Linked DNA regions of Homo sapiens: region 1 is linked to region 2. The links are contacts of gene promoters, found by promoter capture Hi-C in human tissues and cell types (Jung and others, 2019). All regions are on one chromosome and are shown on one strand. The core of a region is centred on a gene start or on the middle of the fragment in contact, and the rest is flanking DNA. Distances in the headings are between cores, read along the strand shown. Region 1 overlaps GRB2 (growth factor receptor bound protein 2). Region 2 holds the start of FOXJ1 (forkhead box J1).

Region 1 (7,016 bases), core at 3,505-6,004, 750 kb before region 2:
ACACACACAAAAATTAGCTGGGTGTGGTGGCGGGTGCCTGTAGTCCCAACTAATCGGGAGGCTGAGGTAGGAGAATGGCATGAACCCAGGAGGCGGAGCTTGCAGTGAGCTGAGATCCCACCACTGCACTCCATCCAGCCTGAGGGACAGAGCGAGACTCCATCTCAAAAAAAAAAAGAGTGCCAATCTTGCCCAGGACGGTGGCTCAAGCCTGTAATCCTAGCCAAGGTGGGTAGATATTTTGAGGCCAGGAGTTCGAGACTAACCTGGCCAACATGGTGAAACTCACCTCTACTAAAAGTACAAAAATTAGCAGGGTGTGGTAGCACGTGCCTGTAGTCCCAGCTATAGGCTGAGGTGGGAGGATCGTTTGAGCCTGGGAGGCAGAGGTTGCAGTGAGCTATGATGGCACCTCTGCATTCCAGCCTTGGTGACAGGGGGAGACTCTGTCTTAAAAAAAAAAAAAAAAAGTCAATATTTCAGCATTCAAGATTAGAAATGATCTATAATTTAGTAGGCTGGGCATGGTGGCTCACACCTGTAATCCCAGCACTTTGGGAGGCCGAGGCAGGTGGATCATTTGAGGTCAGGAGTTTAAGACCAGCCTGGCCAACATGATAAAACCACATCTCTATTAAAAATACAAAAAATTAGCCAGGTGTGGTGGCGGGCGCCTATAATCCCATCTACTCGGGAGGCTGAGACAGGACGATCACTTGAACTCAGGAGGTGGAGGTTGCAGCAAGCCAAGATCGTGCGATTGCACTCCAGCCTGGGCGACAGAGTGAGACTTCGCCTAAAAAAAAAAACAAAACAAAAAAACAAACCCAACAACTTAGAAGCAATTCTACCATATGGTTTAGAGGTGAAACTGAAAGATTCTGAAGGAATACTACATTTCCTTACTCATTTCTTTCTCCAAACAGGAGGAAGAATCATCTTCAGCCAGTCTCCCAAAAAGAATCTTTTATAGGAAATGAAAGTTCATTCTCAGCACCTATTTGGAAATAGTCCATTCAGCTGACAAAATGAATATAATAAAAAGCAAGCAGATTATTTGCTTTAAGAGCACTCAAACAACAAACTGCTCCCTTCCTTTTTTGTTTTTGTTTTTTTGAGATGGAGTCTCTCTCGGTTGCCCAGGCTGGAGTGGAATGGCACAATCTTGGCTCACTGGAACCTCCACATCCCGGGTTCAAGCGATTCTCCTCCCTCAGCCTCCCGAGTAGCTGGGATTACAGGTACGCACGCGCACCACCGGGCCCGGCTGTTTTTTGTATTTTTAGTAGAGATGGGGTTTCACCATGTTGGCCAGGCTGGTCTCGAACTCCTGACCTCAAATGATCCATGCGCCTCGGCCTCCCCAAAGTGTTGGGATTCAGGCGTGAGCCACCACGCCTGACCACAAACTAACCTCCTTCTTAAAGATTAAATGCAATATTCTGGTTTAGTCAACAAGATTGATAAGAATTCTTACCAAAAGGCAAAGGCTGGGTGCAATGGCTCACACCTGTAATCCCAGCACTTTGGGAGGAAAAAATAAATGGTTCTACAGAGTATACTGATACTAGGACTTTAAAATAGTGGGGGGGGGGAAGAAAAACACTTTTTTTTTTTTTTAATTTGGAGATGGGGTCTCGCTTTGTTGCCCAGGTTGGGCTCCAACTCCTGGGCTCAAGCAATCTTCCTCTCTCAGCTTCATGAGCAGGTGGGGCCTTCAGGCTTGCACGAGCATGCCTGGCTTTTTATTTAGATTAGGTAATTTGAACCCCTGAAATGGGACTTGTGCACTGAAACTCAGGACTTATAACTTGTGAAAACTCTAACCAACCAAACTAGGGATTGGCTCTCCACTGATCTTCTCCATTGAGGATCATAATCAAAGGGCATTCCTTTCTTAGGAGACTTATTAAAATGCCCCTATCTGACAGGCAGAAATCCCATGATTCTTGCTTTCAGTATCTTTCAAACCACTCCCCTCCTTCATTTCTAGTATCCCAGGTTGATACAGACACTTGACACACAACCCGATTACTTGCCACCATCCAGGCTTGGGGCCCCAGCCTTGCCCCCTTGCAATTCTTTATACACACACACACAATGCTCTTCATCGCTAAAAACCTTCCGAGGCTTCTTAAGGACCAGATCAAACTCTTACTGGGCTTTTCTCACCTCGCTCCAACTCTACCTTATTTTCCACTATGTCAGTCTAGATTCTTATTCCAGCCTTCCTATCTCAAACACAACAAGCACAAGTTTCGTCTCCCTTGAAATGTCCTCCTTCTCTTAACCTACACGTCCTGTTCTCCTACAAGGTTCAAGTCACAACTCTGCACACACCTGACTGATGTCAGCGCTTGCCAGTTTCATCCTTCCTGAACGACTCTAGCAGTTACAGTGTGCAACCCGACTCAAGTATACCATCAAATACTACTAAGAATCACTACTACAAATCACTACCAAGAATGATAGTTGTGTGATCTTGGATAGATCATTTAACCTATATGGGCCACCATTTCCTCATCTGTAAAAGAGTAAGTCTAACTTAAGAAATTTTAAAAGATCTTGCCGGGCGCGGTGGCTCACGCCTGTAATCCCAGCACTTTGGGAGGCCGAGACGGGCGGATCACCAGGTCAGGAGATCGAGACCATCCTGGCTAACATGGTGAAACCCCGTCTCTACTAAAAATACAAAAAATTAGCCGGGCGTGCTGGTGGGTGCCTGTAGTCCCAGCTACTGGGAGGCTGAGGCAGGAGAATGGCGTGAACCCGGGAGGCAGAGCTTGCAGTGAGCCGAGATCGCGCCACTGCACTCCAGCCTGGGTGACAGAGCGAGACTCCATCTCAAAAAAATAAAAAAATAAATAAAAATAAATTTTAAAAGATCTTTTCCTGTTCTAAAAAAATTTTTATATACCATCTTGTACTGTTTCACATATTAATCTCAATTCTCTTACTTGAGATTTTGGAGCTTCTGAAGGGAGAAAGTACATCTTATATTTCTCTCCCAACTCTCAAAGCAACTTATCCCAGTATCTGGCTCAAGAGATGCTCAGTCAGTGTGACACTGAAATAGGCCAGGCAGTGCTGAGACAGAATGCTTTGAAGATCTCAATGTGAACTCAAGACCTGTTTTTAAAGTAGTTTAAGAAACTGGTAAAGGTAGTTAGTGCCAGAGAGGGTAGAATACACCTAGATGATCCAGGCTGGCTCTCCACTAGAGCTGAAGAAAGCAAGAGGCTGGCTCTAGAATGGAATGAGCACAGATCTGAGAGCTCAAAATGGGTCTCTTAATTCCTATAAGCACAGTTTGAAGTATGTATACATAAGCCCCTAAATGGCAGTTGCAACTCCTAGGTAAGTTTTATGTGCTCTAGTGTAGACTATTTAGGGGTCTTGTCAGTGGAGAACCTCTGGGACTGTCTCAAGCCTGCCCTACAATGGTGGGAGGAATTCTGATGTATTCCAACCACACCAGGCCTGAAACCTGCAGTGGAAGGGCAATTCCTTCTATTTTACATCCCAGTGTCCTCTCCCTCCCCGAGCCAAGAAAAACACAAGCTTTTATAAGAGAGAGAAACAAAGGCAGACATATTGAACCATTCAACTCTATTTTAGGCTTCCAGTAAAATGCTTTTATTTTTTCCTCTTTTTCTCTGGACAGTAACAGGTCAATGTGTAGACAGAAAGTAGGGAAGGGGTCTGCTGGAGGAGAGGAGTCACCATTTTTAACTAAAAGTTAACCAGGAACTCCAAGACAGGAGAAGATGTGATCCTTCTGAACTATAGACAGAGGATGAAGGCTAAGTGCCTATTTCATTATCTTGAAATGAAACTTATTCAATATCCATATGCACGTCTCCTTTATCAAGAGAAGGCATATATATGCCTATTTCAATGAAAGTTAAATTGTTCAATGCTATTCCAGCAACTTTTAAAACATGTTTTGGCTTACAACTAATACCCTCAAGACGTCCCAAATCAAAGCAATTCAAATGAAGCCAGTTTACTTCTTGAAGAATCAAATGAGGAAAACTCCGTTTTTTTAACTAACAGCTTTTAAGAAAGCATGTTCCTCCTCTTCACCCAGCCATTTCACACAGTTATGAGACAAAGGGCAACTACTGTATCGTCACTCTTTTTTTTTTCTTTTGGAGTAAAGCCACAACATTACCAACAAACAGCTAATGGCCACCGTTCAAAAGCAATAATGGCATTATGACTTCATATCTCAGTTATCTACCAAATTGAAAAGAACCACATATATGTATTTTTCTCTCTCCTCAAAGAAAATCTAAAAGTGAATGTGAGTATTCTGATTTACTTTCTCCTCCATAATAAAAATTTCTGAGGGACTGTTAAACAGGATCTTCTTCCCTAATAATAGGATGGGAAAGAAGGTTTTTACACTTGCTCCAGAATTTACTAATTTAAGTTAAAGAATTTATAAAATGTTCATGGTCTAGGTCTAGGACAAACTTCAAAGACAGAAATCAGGGAAAGTTCTTGTTTAAAAATTTTAAAAAAAGGCTGGGTGCAGTAGCTCACGCCTGTAATCCCAGCACTTTGGGAGGCCGAGGTGGGCAGATCACGAGGTCAGGAGATTGAGATCATCCTGGCTAACATGGTGAAATCCCATCTCCACTAAAAATTCAAAAAATTAGCCGGGCGTGGTGGCGGGCGCCTGTAGTCCCGGCTACTCGGGAGGCTGAGGCAGGAGAATGGCATGAACCTGGGAGGTGGAGCTTGCGGTGAGCCCAGATTGTACCACCGCACTCCAGCCTGGGTGACAGAGCGAGACTCCATCTCAAAAAAAAAAAAAAAAAAAAAATTCTTAAAAAGAGACCGCATGCCCCTAGTTTTGTTTTAATTTGTTGCTTCAGTGCTTAATGTGCAATGGGACAGATTTAGAGAAAAATATGAACCACCAGCCTTCTAGGTTCAAGTTTCTAAGATAAACTTATGAAAAAATCTAAGTTTGTATCAAAAACAAAAAATACTAGCCCAAAAGGGCTTTTGTACAGGCTATAGATGTGGGCATTTGAGTAGCCCATCTTATACCATCACAAGTGGGTTATCTACAGAAAACAGTAATCACCTACAGAAACATCAAATTACCTCTCCCATACACCAATGAAAACTGAGGAATTTTGTAGTCTAAGTTAACTTTGCCCTGATCTCTAGCTGGGCATATTTTCTCTAGTTCAAGAAAATAGAAACCTAGTTTCTAGAAAATGGTTCCGTCTGCTTTCTGACAATTTAGTGTTGACTTTGAGAATACCCTCGAAAAGTGTGGTGTCACAAACACAGCTTTGAAATGAACACACAGACACAAAGTTTTCTTCTCTTTAAAGGGCTCTGCAGCATCATCTTCTATGAGGCTCAACCTACATTTCTAACATTAAGAAATTACTGGGCAGTTAACTTCAGAGTAGAACTCTACGCCTTGGGCAATGAGGGCAAAATAAAGACTATCAATAAGTCCACATAACTTAAAAGTAAAAAGACTGCACGTCCTTTTATAAAGAACCATATTTCTACATCTCCACTTGCTTTCTCTTCATAAAATTCTAAGAATTTCATTCAGGGGTAGTAAACAAATGAGGTAGCAAATTCCAACAATCAGTCTAAGGCTCAGAAGGAAAAATGTCAAAACTTGAGACACAGGGAACACTCAAACATGAAGCTTCAGCCTTTCCTCCTTTAAAGTTAACATACTCTTTGATAACACTCATCCTCGTTAAAATAAATTACACATCCAAAAGAGCAAACTGCTACAGTCAATTGGGTAAACAACATAATTAACATGTGCTGGGGGAGAGCGAATCCTCACATAAATAGTGGGGCTCAAAATAAGCTGCACATGGTATAGAAGCTGATTTTTAAACTGTCAGCAGGTTTCTTTTCGTGCAATTAGAGTTTAATATGGGGTAATTGCTCCTCAAGTTTCTTTTAAGAAAGTCGAAATCTGACTTGTACAATAGCAGGTTGCACCTTATTATTTAGAACTCCATTTGTTTTTTCACAAAGAATAAAAATACACTGAAGTTCTTTAATGAGTTTTGGTATGTACTTCTAACAACCTCTCTAAACTGGGAAAATTAATTTCTAACCTACCAAAATCATATTCCAGAACGCAAAATCCTTTGGCTATACAAAGTAAGACTAACTGAATGCTTTTACATAAATACTTCAGGTCTGGGTCTTTTTAAAAAATGCTATTTTTAAAATAAAACTCTACAGGGCAAATCAATCTACTCATATACTTCCTTTCTACAATCACATTACTTTGACTTTACTTGAAATATTACCAGTATCAACAGACAAATGAGGCATTCACACAAAGGCAGTTAAACACCACACATCACACCAACTCACTTAAGTCATATTTAATATTCTACTCAGCATCTAAAGCTCTCCAGAACAAATATGATGGTAAATGTTAAAAGTGTACAATGAAAAACACAGCTTCTTTGTGTGTAATCAGGGCGAAAGAAGGTGGGTGAGCACAGGGAGAGCGATCTCAGCATTGTGCTCGGCATCAGCACTTACCTTGAGGATGTCCCCCCTTTTGAAGCTCAGCTCGTCGTCTGCAGTAGCTTTGAAGTCATATTTGGCGATGGCTTCCATTCTGAGCGCTGCTCAGTGCTCAGCAGCCTGAAGCAGGGGGAAGGGAGTCTTCCCTGCTGAAGCAACCCAGCGCTCTGGGCTTAGCCTCGCCTCTCTTCTGGGACTCGCTCCGGCACTCTGGGACACACAATGCCACCCTGAAGCAGGAGAGGGACGATTAAGAGCAGTGGCCAGGATTGAAGGCAACCCCGCCCTGCCAATCGGCCTGCTGTCCCAGCCCCCACGCCCCCTGGCTCGGCCTGGCTCAGCCCTCCTCCCTCCCTTCCAGGCAACAGCCCCCCCCCGCCGACTTCTTCCTCTTTTCAGCCTCGGCCCCCAGGCGACTGACAGGCCTGCCGGCCAATGGCACAGCTGCCTGAGCTATTCCTGAACACACTTCCTCTTCC
Region 2 (7,506 bases), core at 1,414-3,913:
GAGAGAGAGCGCGCAGGGATGAGAGGTGGGGGATCTGATGACTTTCCTTGTTTGTTGAGCCGGCTGCTGGCCTGGGCCTTCACCCCCCACGGCCCCCTCCCCCCACTCCAGGCTCAGTTGATTATTACCCAGCCAAGAGCTAAGAGCATAGCACTCATTCCTGGGGCCCGTTTCTCGAAGCGCAGCTGCACAGGCTTAGGGTAGGGTGGGGCTGAGGGTCTCTGCTTTTTCGGTGCAGCTGCAAATGACCCTGCTCTAGGGTCAGGGGCATTGGAAATGGCTTGGGACTGCGGTCCTGTGGCCTGCCCGCTTTGGGTGCTTCAGGGAAGAGTCTGGGCGTCCTTGGGGGGCCCCTGACTCCAACTAGCCCTTGATGGTGATGGCTGAAGACTCTTAGGGCACTGCCTACCCAGCCTCAAATCCACCATCCTCCTGCCTTGTCCATTCTTAGGTGCTTAATCTTGTCCAAAGCCTGCTGGGGGACAGGGGTCCTGGGCTGGGACGGCAGGGCAGGTGGGTGGATAATGCCCGGCAGCAAGGCTGGGATGTTTACATGGTGGCCTGGGCCCCTTGGCTGCTCAGTGCCTGGTTCCAGAGACGTGGAACACGAAGTGAGTGTGGTAGGCAGAGCCCCAGTGGAAGGCACCTGGCTCAGGTAATTGTCCCCCCAGGGAGGTTGGCTGACAGCGGGGGTTGGAGGCAGGAAACTGAGCAGAGGTTGAGGTGGGGGGCTGGGACAGCAGCTTTAGGAAGGCCCCTTACCCCCTCCACCCTCCATTGGGACACACCTGGCCCTCACATGCTAAGGCACCCCTTCCATTCCACCCTCCCCAAGCCAACTGCAAAAGGGCAGGACGTAGAGCCTGGCAGGGAGGCCACGTTCCAGTTTCCGTTTCTGACTCCCGGCCCCGACAAACCATCCCGGGGCAGGGCAGTGTCTAGGAATTCTAGGACTTGGGACAAGAATGCGCCTTCAGTTCATCGCTCTCCCCAAGGAGATTCTGTCCACGCAGAGTCTAGCCCTGGTCTTTGGCCTGGGCCTGCTGGATGAATGGCAGGTTATTTCCCCTTGAATCTCAGCCTCTGCACCCCTAAAGCCCTCCACCTCTGGACATTCTCCCTTCTCTCTCTCTCTCTCTCTGGAAGTCAAAGGAGGGGCAGTTGCAAGAACTGGGCTCCTTTGCAGGGCTCCCTTCTGGGGCGCTGGCCGCACCGCAGAGCCTACTTGGCCTGCAGATTTGGGATATGAATCCAGTGCAGCGTGGGGAGCGAGGAGGGAATGGGGAGGGAGCGGCCGCCGCCCGTGCCTCCTCTACCTGCCAGGTGGGATCTGCGTGGCGGAAGTAGCAGAAGTTGTCCGTGATCCACTTGTAGATGGCCGACAGGGTGATCTTGGTGGCCTTGCTGGCCTGCATGGCCATGCAGATGAGCGTGGCATACGAGTAGGGAGGCTTCACGTGCGGATTGGTGGCGTAGTCCACGTCGTCGGGGGGTGGGGCCTGCAGCCCCGGGGGCGCGCTCCGCGACGTGCACGACGACGTGGGCTTGCCCGGCGTGTGTGGCTGCCCCAGGCAGGCGGGGTCGGCCGCCAGGGGGGACCCGGGCGCCGCTGAACCTGGCACCTGGTGGTAGCCGTGGGGGTCGGTGCCCCCCGGGGGCAGGGCGGGGGCCTTGGCGTTGAGAATGGAGAATTCCTGCAGCCACTGCAGGCTGGTCAGGCTGTCATCCAGGGCGTCGGGCTCCTCCAGGCCGCCCTCCGGCCCGGCCTCCTCCGCCGGCCCGGCTCCCGAGAGGCGCAGCCAGCTCTCCGCCATGTCTGCGGGGACTCTCCGAGGGGGCGGTCAGCATCCACGGGCTGAGCCGGGGGTGGCCCGCCGCGCTCTCTGGCCCGCTGAGTCCCGCAGCTCCCGTTACACGGCCTCCCGGACGCGCGCTTCCATCTCGCGACCCCGGGGGCGCCTCCTCCGAATAAGTATGTGGTGCCTGCGAGGACCACGGTGGGAGCTGAGCACTACCCCACCCCCGAGGGGACAGTGTGTGTACGGGGACGCCCTCTCTAACATCATCCCCGCAGCTGGGGAGGATCTTTTAGTGCCGAGGTATGGGAAACAGAAGCAAGGCCCTGGGGTCCCACCCCCATCAGATCTGCCTCCCTCTTCCTTTCCTCTTCGAGGTTTTATTAGCCAAATGAAGAGGGTAGGGGCATCCGAGGCTATCCTTTTCTCCCGAAGAGCAGGAAATCAGGACCCCCTTCCTCCTCGCAACAAATGGAAGTGGGGCGAGAAGTTTGGGAGGGCGGTACGACGGGGCGGGGGCGGTGGAGGTCCTCTGATCCTTGAAAAGGAATATTATGATAGGGGATCATTGGGAAGGAAGGGGACGGAACAGTAACGGGGGGCAGGAGGCGAGTTTCCCCCAGACTTCTCCGATGTCAGTCCCTGGGCCCACCACTTCCGTTAAGGACGAATGAGAGAGCGGGTTGGTACCGTTGCCCACCCTTCCCCCTGGCCTGCAGCCCTCCCCATCCCTTACCTGGCTCAGAGCGCAGCCCGGGCCAGAGGAAGGTTCTGGAAGAAGTTGCTCCCACCCCCTGCGGCTCTCTGCCCCCAGCTCGGGGGCCCTGCCAGCGCCTCTTGCCGCCCCCCCGCCCGACGGCGCTTCTCTGAGCTACCGCGGCCCCGGGACCGGCATTAAGTAGCCGCTCCAAAGGCTTCTCCTGCTGCCATGGCGACGCTCCGCCCCCATAAACAGCTTCCGCCTCTGCCATTGGCCAGCACGTCTCCAAGGAGACCGCGGGCACTTGCCACTCTCCCTGGCGGCAACTCTCTTCGAACTCCCTCCTTCTGCCGCCCTCTCCCGCGCCACCCAACCCCCTACCCGCCGCTAAGTCCCGGCTCGGCTCATTCCCGCCCGAGGGCCCCGCGCTGGGGTCGGAGAAGCGCGCGGCCTGCGGCACCGGGAACCGCTATGGATCCGTTCGTTCTGGGGAACCAAGACTCTCGCCCCCACCCCCTTCCTGTCCCGTACGCTTTGAGGCGTCGACTGCTCCTGGGACGGAGCCTGGGGTTGGGGGGCTAAGGCTGGGAGCGGGCTCAGGCTCGGGAACCGTATCCTTGAGGTTTTCTTTCCTCTCCGCTACGAGTGGCACTTTCTCATGTTTCTGCAGCCTTTCCCTCTCCCCCGACTCTTAGGGTCTTTCTCTGGTGTCCCAGGCAGGTCTGACTTTCCGATGCCACCTGCCGCTTACATCCACAGAGGCGGCAGACACACCAAGGGGGTAGGGTAATCCAGTGTGTCCCAGTAAGCAGCTCCTTCCCCACCCGTATCCTCGAGGTTCCAGGAAGCTGACATTCCAGAGGCTTCTGCAGAAGCGCACTCACTCCTCTGGAGACAGCTGATGAAGCAGAGCCCGTGGGTAAAACTCTGAAGTCATGGACTTGTCAAATTCTCCTAGCGGGGTCATTTGCCCAATTAATTTCACCAACCTTTAAGTCACAGGGATTAAGAGTAGAGGGACTCTGGGGACTGTGTCCCTTCCTCCTCCCTTCCCCTGGCCTCCCTCCTGTCACCAGCTTTCCTGCTCTTTAATTATTGAGGAGCTGCAGGGTTGGACGTTCTCCGGTTTAAGGCGGCTGCAGAGGCAGTGGTGGGGGCTGGGTTGATTACCCCGCCTCTGCCCAGGAGCTGGAGAGCCGGGGTCGGGGAGGCTGGTGCCCAGACCATGAAGAAGGCCCGGCTATGGCGCATCACTCCCCCGCCAACATGCCTTTCCCTAGCCCTTGCCTCTCCCACTCCTCCAACTCCAGATCCTCTTGAGTAAAAGTATTAAAGAGTGCTGGCGAAAGTCAGACAGAAACTTTCACAGATAAGCTCACTTTGCAGTTAGCTCTCCTTCCCTTGTAAACAGTTTTATTCATTTTTAAGAATCATGCAGCAATCCATAAATATTGCATTCTTGATGTCCCCACTGTAGTGTGACCACAAGTGTACTCCAGGGAGAGGGGTACACAGATGGCACAAGCAGTATACACATGCACACACCAGGTGTGCAGACCAAAGCAAAGTGAGCGACCAGCGTGCTAAACTCCAGGTGGGCAGGACCCCAACTCCCAGGTGAGGTGGGCAGGACCCTAACTCCCAGGCCAGCCGGCTTAGAGTGTGGTGGTCTGTGCCCAGGAGATGCCTCAGCGGGGGTAGAAACTCTGGTGGGATGGAGCTGGGCAGAAGGAAAAAAGGGCTCTGTGAGGAAGCCGGGATCACACCACCTGAAGGCAATAGGGAGAGCACAGGCCTAGTGCAGCAGGAAGGAGCCCTGGGTCTCCATAGTTAGGCTGTGCCCTGTGGGAGAAGCCAGGCCCCACCTCTTCTCTTTGGGTGAACTGTTGACGTGACTATGTGACTGTCTCCAGATGAAGGACTGGGGCAAAAGGGTTGGCCACTGACCTGTCCTCATCAGGCTGACTGAGGACCAGCTCCTTGGATGGAGTATTTCTGTGGGCCAGAGAGCTAAATGACAGCCAAGAGAAGGCAGGGGGAGGGAGGAAGAGGAGAAATAGTAACTGAGAAACAAGTAAAGGACATTTCTAACCTAGGTATGCCTTGGACATGGGACTGAGGCCTTGAGGAATCTTTCCGTGCTTCTCCCTAGGAGAGGACTAAGCACCTGCTGCGAGGAAGGACAGGGATCCTCAGGAAGGGGGTCCTGGCCACTGTGGCTACTGTTTACCTGAATCTCCTTCATCTCAGCTCCTTCCTCCCTCCTCCCAGGTAACACCACACTGTGAATACTACCTGCAGGGGACAGGACAGGAGGTGGTCTGTGTGCCACCACCCCAGGGTAAGGGAAGCTCCCTGTCACCTGCTGCTTCTGGGCTCATATTTCAGGGAAATCAGGAAGTGGGGTTATTGCTCAGCTTATGCATCTTAACTATGAAAGGGGCGGGAAGAATGTAGGGGGAAGGAAGGAAAGAACATTAGGTGGGGCCTGAAATGGTAAAGTCTACTGCAGTTTTTCAGAGAGGGTTGGACGACAGGCCCCCCTCTCCATCAGGGCAGGATGTGAGCCACAACCACTAGGCAGTGAGACAGTCACTGCACTCCTGGCCTCTGCAGCCACACAGAAACGAAGGACCCCCTGGGCACCAGGCTCTTTTTGAGGCTGCCTTGGAAACAGCCTTGAATTTTTTTTTTTTTGTTTGAGACAGAGTTTCGATCTTTTCAATCTTGTAGCCCAGGCTGGAGTGCAGTGGCACGATCTTGGCTCACCGCAACCTCCACCTCCTGAGTTCAAGCGATTCTCCTGCCTCAGCCTCCCGAGTAGCTGGGGAGGGCCCTTGAAGTGAAGGCCCTGAGCCCTGATTCCAACCTCTGCTCCCAGCACACTGCTGCTGGCCACATGCTGCTGCCTGAACTTAGCTCAAGGCTCTCCATCACTTCCTTTGGGGACCTGGGCACCAAACTGAGAATCACTGGTCCACATTTCTCTCAACCATTAACAAAAGGGGGTAGAGATGGGGGCAACAGGGACAAGAATGCCACCTCCCAATTGAGTGAGGATGAATTATGGTAATATACGACCACTCCTCACCCAGTGCTTGGCACACAGAGGTGGTCAACACATGTGTTTCTTGAAATGTCACCTTAGGATGGAGTTGCAGGCCTCCCTGAATGCACCTGATCAGGAGAAATGCTCCTTAAGGGAAATCATCTTAACTGGGGGATTCTCAGATTCAAGGGCTCCTTCTTTTTTTTTTTTTTTCTCTGTCGCCCAGGCTGGAGTGCATTGGCGCGATCTCGGCTCACTGCAAGCTCCGCCTCCCGGGTTCAGGCCATTCTCCTGCCTCAGCCTCCCAAGTAGCTGGGACTACAGGCGCCTGCAACCATGCCCAGCTAATTTTTTGTATTTTTAGTAGAGACGGGGTTTCGCCGTGTTAGCCAGGATGGTCTCGATCTCCTGATCTCATGATCCACCCGCCTCGGCCTCCCAAAGTGCTGGGATTACAGGCGTGAGCCACCGCGCCCGGCCAAGAGCTCCTTCTTAACCGCACAGGCATGTGAGGCCCAGAAGACTGGCTCTGCCACCAGAAGGAAGGATTGTTTCCTTCAACCAACCTTTTGGTTGCTACCATTTCTTGTCCTTGAGAAAGGTGCTCCTAGTGCTTGTAGAGGGAAACGCTACGTCCGTGCAGTATGGCTCTCCCTTTCCACAGGAGCGATCCTCCAGCCCTACCCCAAACTGCAGGTTTCCAATTGGTTATGATGTGCCAGAGACCAGGAAATGCCAGAGGGATGTTTGTAACAAAGCTGCCAAACTCTAAGCCTTCTTGTTCTACCCCCTAAGGAGAAAAAAGATGTGTAAGAAATTAGCCCATGGACCCCAGCTCCACCTGAACATCAATATACCGTGAGGACATTCCAGAGTCCCTGCAAAAGGTCTCGTGAGCTGCAGTTCATTGAGTGGCTTTAGGTCACACGGAGAAAGGAGGGTTCCAGTTCCCTCTGAGAGGTGAGGGATTGTGGTTACAGGTTGTAACAGCTGTCACAGGAGGGTAAAAAGTCTCCAGCATCTTGCTGAGGATGCCCAGTAGGCAGCAGCTGAGTGAGGATGGATGGAATGCAGGGCAGGAGGGGAGCCCAAGTGCAGAGGCTGGGGCTCAGACAGCCAAAGGGCCCCACACACAGGGCCTCGTCTCAGAGTCCTCCAGGCTGCTGGATGACAAGCGCCGGCGCTGGGCATTCCGACTGACGGCATTGTCATCAGCCTGCCAGGCACCTGGGGAAGAGAAAATGAACATTACAGGAGCCAGACCTTTGGCCAAATCCAGATGGTGTCTCCAGCAGGGCAGCCCAGGAGCCGGCACGGAAGGAGCAGGATGCGTGTCACCTGAGACTCCGATGACGGTGCGAGCCACAGCACTCGTGTGTGAGAACGGAGAGAAGCAGGTGCTGACAGGTGCAGAGCCTGCTCCTGCCCCCTGGGCTAGGTACAGTCACTGCCACTGTGGCTCCCGGACAGGGAGGGACATGAAAGATGTTCCTTGTTTTGCGAACTTACCCTGGGATCCACTTTTGTATTTTAATTACTTGGTTTTAAAGTTTGCCTATATGTTACAATAGACAGGAAAAGGAAATTGGGCCTTGCTGAGCTATTTTCATTGGGGCAGGAAGAGGTGGGGGGAAGTGAGAAGACTGTTCGTTCTGGCCGAGTGTTAATGTTTTCTGTGGGGGCCCAGGCGGGGCAGGAAAGGACTGGCCACCCAGCAGGGTTCCTGGGATGGAAGGCTGCCTGGAGGGAGGACAGTGTGAGGCTCCAGTCCCCGTCACCTGCCGTTTTCCTCTCCTCCTGCACCTACGCAGCTGTTGAGGTTTGCTACTAGCTGGTGCCATCAGCCCAGCAGACACCAGCCCAAGAGCCTCGGGGTCCCACAGATACCATCACTAAACGCATCCGCTCCCCAAATCTGCTGCTGCCCCCACATGAGGAGTGCCAGCGCCTGTCTGGAAACC

What was found. Contacts are between HindIII fragments. The study calls those that stand out against the background at their distance.
Region 1: a fragment that was not itself captured here is called in contact with the fragment with the promoter of FOXJ1 in region 2 in 2 of the 25 tissues and cell types used here (dorsolateral prefrontal cortex and pancreas).

The regions. Positions count from the first base shown.
Region 1 is chr17:75,386,999-75,394,014 of GRCh38, forward strand. It overlaps GRB2 (growth factor receptor bound protein 2), which reads right to left. Exons shown (of 6, transcript NM_002086.5): 2 at 6,553-6,767. The coding sequence starts at 6,630. Among named protein-coding and RNA genes, the nearest start is that of GRB2, 15 kb to the right of the region's middle. RefSeq lists an enhancer at 6,986-7,016. The HindIII fragment of the contact is 6,103 bases long and covers 1,704-7,016 here.
Region 2 is chr17:76,138,582-76,146,087 of GRCh38, forward strand. It overlaps FOXJ1 (forkhead box J1), which reads right to left and starts at 2,664. Exons shown (of 3, transcript NM_001454.4): 1 at 2,533-2,664; 2 at 1,317-1,983. The coding sequence starts at 1,814. RNF157 (ring finger protein 157) reads right to left here. Exons shown (of 19, transcript NM_052916.3): 19 at 3,893-6,772. The coding sequence ends at 6,654. It overlaps RNF157-AS1 (RNF157 antisense RNA 1), which reads left to right and starts at 1,975. Exons shown (of 8, transcript NR_040017.1): 1 at 1,975-2,099; 2 at 4,649-4,767; 3 at 6,341-6,505; 4 at 6,841-6,983. RefSeq lists enhancers at 431-1,090, 6,252-6,800, 6,767-6,826, 6,801-7,348, 6,917-7,096 and silencers at 1,502-1,691, 1,752-1,821, 2,500-2,659. The HindIII fragment of the contact is 16,722 bases long and covers 1-7,506 here.